2 separate regions of the Homo sapiens genome follow, and region 1 is linked to region 2. Evidence: promoter capture Hi-C in human tissues and cell types (Jung and others, 2019). All regions are on one chromosome and are shown on one strand. Each heading gives the region's core, a stretch centred on a gene start or on the middle of the fragment in contact. The rest is flanking DNA. Distances are from core to core; before and after follow the strand shown. Region 1 overlaps GSTA3 (glutathione S-transferase alpha 3). Region 2 holds the start of GSTA5 (glutathione S-transferase alpha 5).

The links. The method cuts DNA at HindIII sites, captures the fragments that hold promoters and counts their contacts. A contact is called where the count stands out against the background at its distance.
Region 1: a contact is called between a fragment that was not itself captured here and the fragment with the promoter of GSTA5 in region 2, in 1 of the 25 tissues and cell types used here (spleen).

What each region holds. Positions count from the first base shown.
Region 1 is chr6:52,896,429-52,899,719 of GRCh38, reverse strand. It overlaps GSTA3 (glutathione S-transferase alpha 3), which reads left to right. Exons shown (of 7, transcript NM_000847.5): 6 at 1,764-1,895; 7 at 2,792-3,074. The coding sequence ends at 2,914. All of the region lies in intron 2 of LOC105375091 (a long non-coding RNA gene), which reads right to left. Among named protein-coding and RNA genes, the nearest start is that of GSTA3, 12 kb to the left of the region's middle. The HindIII fragment of the contact is 6,470 bases long and covers 1-3,291 here.
Region 2 is chr6:52,839,175-52,842,228 of GRCh38, reverse strand. GSTA5 (glutathione S-transferase alpha 5) reads left to right here and starts at 1,416. Exons shown (of 6, transcript NM_153699.3): 1 at 1,416-1,502. The coding sequence starts at 1,416. The HindIII fragment of the contact is 18,057 bases long and covers 1-3,054 here.

The DNA.
Region 1 (3,291 bases), core at 377-2,876, 57 kb before region 2:
TTACTAGACCCCAGTATAGAATTCTCTATTCAACAATTTTATGTTCATAAGTAGAACATGGGCTGTGGAAGGCTCTGAACCACACTAGAGGTTGCTGTTGAGTCTGTGGAACACAGGCTTTGTCTGAAGATGAACATGATGAAAGCGATCCATTAGAAACTATTCTGGCACCATGTGTAGGAAGACAGGAGACCAATTTCCCAACCAGAGAATATTGTAGTGTTTCAGAGATGGATATTTCTTAAAAGGATAGTGACAGTGGGGTGGAGAGGAAGATTTTTTAAAACTCATTTTAAAGTAAGTTGCAGACGTCAGTGCAGTTCACTCCTAGACACTTCAGCTTGCAGATTATAACAGCGCAGGTTAGGAGTCAGAGCCGATATTGCAAGAAAGATGATGAATTCAAGTTCACCCTGTTAGATAGGAGTTCTAAATTTCTTTTCAAAGAATTAACATGTCAGTATATTCAATTTTTTGCCTTCTACTTTTAAACTTAACTACCTCGTAAAGCAATCTTTTTCGATTACCTACTCCACCCTGACTCATTCCGATCACCTGCTCCACCCTAACTCATTCCGATCACCTGCTCCACCCTGACCCATTCCGATTACCTGCTCTACCCTAACTCATTCCGATTACCTGCTCTACCCTGACTCATTCTGATTACCTGCTCTACCCAAACTCATTCCGATTACCTTCTCCTCCTAACTCATTCCGATTGCCGGCTACCTGCTCTGCCCTGACTCCTGCCAAAGCACTCACCCCGTCATTCTCTTTAAATTAGCCAATCAGAATTAGTTTAGCCAGTGCAGTCTAACCCTAGCCAATAGGGGAACGACACAGCAGCAGGGGGAAAGACACAGCAGCAGGGGCCACGTGCGTCAGGGATAAGAAACCCTTCCCCTCCTTTGTCCAAGTGTGCGCTCACCGTTGTTCCATCTGTGAGAGCGCACCCTTCTATATAGAAGTACCTTGCCTTGCTGAGAATTAAAAAGAAAATTTTATATTCAAGTACTATTCTTTTTGCGTCACTGAAACTTTATATATAACAACCCAGGTTTACTTCAGATCCCAGGGAGATAGAACAGGAAATGAGGAAAGCAGACAAGGCATTTTATGAAGATAGACTTGGAGGAACAATGATACCACTTATACCCAAGTTATAATTTTCCAGCAAAATTTCAATTTACTAGACCCCAATATAGAATTCTCTATTCAACAAAATTTTATGTTTTTAAGTAGAACGTGGGCTGTGGAAGGCTCTGAATCACACTAGAGGTTGCTGTTGAGTCTATGGAACATATGGAGAAATGAAGACTCTGAAATAGTCTACTCCTGGAGGAAGAGTGCTGTCATGAAGGTGGAGTCACTGCCCAAGGGAGATTGGAGAGGGAGAGAGCAGATTGTAGAGCCACATCCTGAATGTCAAGGCTACACGCTGTAGGGCCTGGGGCAGACAGAACATGCAGTAGCAGGTGCTAAACCCCTGGCCCATGTGGAAAATGCAAGCAGGTGGATGGTGTGGATGCCACAGTGATGTGGAATGAGAAGAGAAAATGGGAGCCTGAGCTCCAACTGAGGAGTGAGCAGAGCCACATTCTTGCTCCCTCACTCAATCAGGGAACATAAACAAAGGCCTGGACCTTCACACCATCCAGTTAGGCAACACAGGTGGGAATGTCAGGCTGGAAAGACTCAGGGAGAAGCAGGGGTCCCATCCTGGGTGCGCATGTATTCCTGATCTGATTCCTCAAATTCTCCAGGTGTTACAGAGCCATGGACAAGACTACCTTGTTGGCAACAAGCTGAGCCGGGCTGACATTAGCCTGGTGGAACTTCTCTACTATGTGGAAGAGCTTGACTCCAGCCTTATCTCCAACTTCCCTCTGCTGAAGGTGACCCATTTCACAGCCCTCAGAGAGACAGCCCCACATGTCCCATCTTGGGATCTAGTATCTGGGCCCTTGGACTGGCCATGTTCTGACCCCAGCCTTTTTCAGGCCTTCAGTACCCCCAGGTCTCCAAAATGAGCTTCCAGACCCCAATTTTGAGGCATGAAAAGACTCTTGTTCTGGAAAGGAAATTTGTGGTCATGCTACCCCATGAAAAGTATTTTGCCTTTTATCACGGAAAGGACCCAGGGCCCAGCATCTTCCTTCCTCCCCCATTCCTCTGTGGTCTGTTCCTGAGTTCTGTGATTCCCTTTATCCCAAGACTGTCCTTGTGTTCCCACACTGAATTGGTCTGAGCAGGGCCCTTTCCATCTGGTTCCTTCCTTAGGCTCTGGCCAGGGTGGGCAGCAGGAGCTGTCAGATAGTTGTGTTCCTCTGTGCACAGCACACCCAACACACTGCCCCCAACCCTGTATCTCTCACTGAGAAAACGTGGTCCCATGGTTTGACTTTAATATTTTCTATAACATTTTCCTTTCCAACTCATTTCTCCATATTTTCACTTCTGCTTAGAGACTGACCTGTGTTGATATCTCACAGGCACATTATTTTTTCTTGTCTTATACAAGAGTCACTAATCTACAGGATTGATATGTAAGGAGAAAGATAGGGATGACTGAATTGATTAAAACTTTAAGACATCTTTGCGGAAAATAAAGTGAGCTACATGTTCTTCCTCTTATCTTCATTTATCACTGGGTGTCTGTTTCTGCCTCCATGCTGGTGCTGATGGAGGGGACTCACTTGGTCTCTGGCAGGAGGGGTCAAATTCCCTGGGTGGTATTAATGGTGGTGGCAGACCTTGGCTTCACTCTGAGGCTGTGCTTTGTGAATTACAGGCCCTGAAAACCAGAATCAGCAACCTGCCCACGGTGAAGAAGTTTCTACAGCCTGGCAGCCCAAGGAAGCCTCCCGCAGATGCAAAAGCTTTAGAAGAAGCCAGAAAGATTTTCAGGTTTTAATAAAGCAGCCATGGAGGCTAAGAACATGCAAGACCAATATTCTAAAGTTTTGCAACAATGAAGTGCTTTACTTAAGTGTTGATTGTGCCTGTTGTAAAGCTAATGAACCCTTTCCAATTATATGCTAATTAAATAATAAAAACTCCTATTTGCTAACTTAGTTAAAATTTAAGCCTTTTCATTAGGATCTGATATGAATTCAGATTTCTAATCTCCTCCTAACCTCTTTCTTGAAATTAAAAATTTAGTAAAAATGGGAAATGTAGGTTATATGGTTTGACTTTTACCAAGAATTATCCTGTAACATTTGTCATACAATCTATTAAAATGTCAATGTAGAAATGCGCTCCTGACATTTTCAGGTATGCACAGGAGAA
Region 2 (3,054 bases), core at 167-2,666:
CACATTCATGATACAATTAGTTGCATCTGTCCTTGCAGCCATTGGTTTTCATTCTCTGATACTCTGCTATGTTCCACCTCCCAAACAGCCTGGGATAGAGCAAGGGCTATCAAACTTCACTGATGAGCCCAGTCAATTTCTCTCTAACCATTTACAACAAGCAGGTGAGCGTGCACACATGCAAACATCCATACACACAATATACAAATAACTGAAACTAACAACTCATGAAACATTACTTACCCTTCAACATGTCATGCTCACTGATATTTTTATTCTTTTCTATTTTATTTTAAAAAGTACTGGGGTTTCACAATCTACTGAAAGATTACCATGCATATTTGAGAAACATTAACATAGAAAATAAGACTCAGTCTTTAGTTTTTAATAGCAGTGAGTCTGCATCCCAGATCCACCACTTAATCTGGGTAAGTTACTTTAAAAACCTCAGTATCCTCAACTGTAAAATGAGAATAGCAACAGCCTTTCACCTTAGGTGATTTTTGTAGGACAAAATGAGAGAAGTTTAGAAGAATGGCCAGTGTATGACTGACGTTGAACAAATGCTAGCTCCTTCCATATCCTGCAAAGTTAATGCAGCAACATCTCTTTTGCCAGGTTATAAAACAAAATGCCCCCCACAGAGTTAAAATATAGAACACCAAAAGAAGCAAGGTATTAGCATTCTCTGTTGAAAGACTTTGGATCTTCTAGCTACAGTAAAACAAGTCTGAAGCCTAATTTCTGGTTTTGATCAAATGCAGTCTCACAGCCAGAGAGCTGAAGAGTGACTTAGCTCCCTGCCGGTCCTCCCTGTCAGTGACATCCTCTGGTTTCACAACCAGTTCATGGGTTCCCAGGGCCTTCACCCAGATGTCTTCCAGGCGTGACTTCATTTTAGTCCTTGGTGTAGATATTCATGTCCATCACCAACCAGAGTGTGACTGTGAACATTGTATTTCTCTGATGTTCGATTTCATTAACTAAAAATTGGAGAAAACAACCATTTAATGAGACTATAAGGAGGGTTAAAGATATAAAATATTGAAAGGGACTAGCATTGAGGAAGGATCATGAGGAAGTTTTCAATAAATATTAGTTCTTGAATTCTTCCCCTTCCATTAACTCCTGTACATGTATTATTACCACATACTCTCACCTCTTAGGCTGCCAAGAAAAGTCACAGGTAAACAATGAAGACTTGAGACTGGTTTGAGGGTGGCCACTGCTGGGTAACAATTTGAGCCAAGAAAACATTCCAGGAACTCCTTCAACCCAGTCATGAAGAAGGCAGGTTCTTCTTCAGCATTGTTTGTGGTTTTCAACCACACATCCTAAAGTACATTTTTGATTCTATCGTTTCAATTATTCATTCATTCATTCAGGCTTAGAGAAACCTCCAGGAGACTGCTATCATGGCAGAGAAGCCCAAGCTCCACTACTCCAATGCACGGGGCAGTATGGAGTCCATTCGGTGGCTCCTGGCTGCAGCTGGAGTAGAGGTAGGTTCTGAGTAAGGTCATCTTAAGTTGGATTTAAAATTGCGTTATCACATACTTTTCCCACAGAAACTATGCAATGATTACTTACTGAAGCATTGTGCCTTAAATAAAAATGGACTGTAATTAAGAAAAAGATGAATAGATTTGACCTAAAAATTGTTAAAATTTCTTCTTATCTAAGAGCATACATATTAAAATACAATTAAGAAACTAATCAAAAAGTGTAGAACTTAAGTGGATTAGAATTTAAACAAACTGTAAAAAATAATTTATGGCATTAGAAACTTGGATATTGACTGAATATTTGATGACATGAAATAATTATTGTTAATATTTCATGTGTGATAATGTACTATGGTTATCTTTAGAACAGTTTATGTGTTTTAGGAAAACACATTGAAGTATTTAAGGATTAATCATATGGATCTGGGATTTCTTTGGAATTATTACAAAAGGAGAAGTAGGTGGGCATAAATATAACTTCACATTGGTTTTGGTTGATAATTATTGATTCTAGGTGAGAAATATAAGGAGAATTTTTATGCTTTTCTGTTTATTTTTATTCATGTTCATAATTTCCACAACAAAAAAATGAAAATACGTAATATTTAAAAATGGCTGTAGTTAGAGGTAAAATGCAAACTATAAATGAGAGGTGTAAGGGAGTGGATTGTAACAAACTACCTATTAAAGATTGACTACATTCACAGCAATTATTTGTTGAGCACTTATTAATTCCAGGTTCTGTACTAGGTCATGGAGATAGACAGTGAACAAGACAGACACAGTCCCTGCCCTGGGGCGGCCTACATGTCTATGAGGATGCAGACAAGTAAACACGTGGTTAAAATGAGGCGTGGAGGCTTCTAGAACACCCAAGCATTCCCCAGTGTTACCAGGTCATCCTCCCAGTGTTTGAGTAGGAAATGCCTGGAGGTGTCTGTGGGACTCCGCTGAGTGCTGCCCTCTAGAGGTGTCACTGAGAAAAACACTTCCCAGTCCAGACCAGAGTCCTTCAGCGACTGCCTGAGGGTTTTCCTGGGAAGTGAGTCATGGACAAACTCAGGAGATCTTGTCCCTCGGGTGGCAGCAGAAAAGGGGGGTTTCAGGTGAGGTGGCGTCCTGTGAAGGGAACTTCTAGCGCGCCCCTTCAGCCTCACAGCGCCGTGTGGACCTGAGCCTCGGAACGGTACTTTGTGCGTTGCTTCACGAAGGCTTGGGACTTTAGCCTCACCCTTTCTCAGTTCTATGAAGAAATAAGCACATAAGAAATCCAAACACTATCATTCTAGGTTGTTTCCTTTGTACAAATGAATACCCTGTTTCACTGTCACGCAGACATCAGCTCTGCAGCTCAGGGATGTGTTCAGAGCCCGGGTAGGAAGAGTTCAGCAGGAGGGAGGGAGGGGCAAGGCTGGGAGGAACCCAGGTTCCCAGGTCTCCATCCAGCCTGACTGAAGGCGGGGGCAGGGCTGACTGCAGACCTTGCTCAGGCTTCTGGGGTCTCAGCGCCCTAAGGCTGATGATCACAACCCAGTCCTCACATCCCACT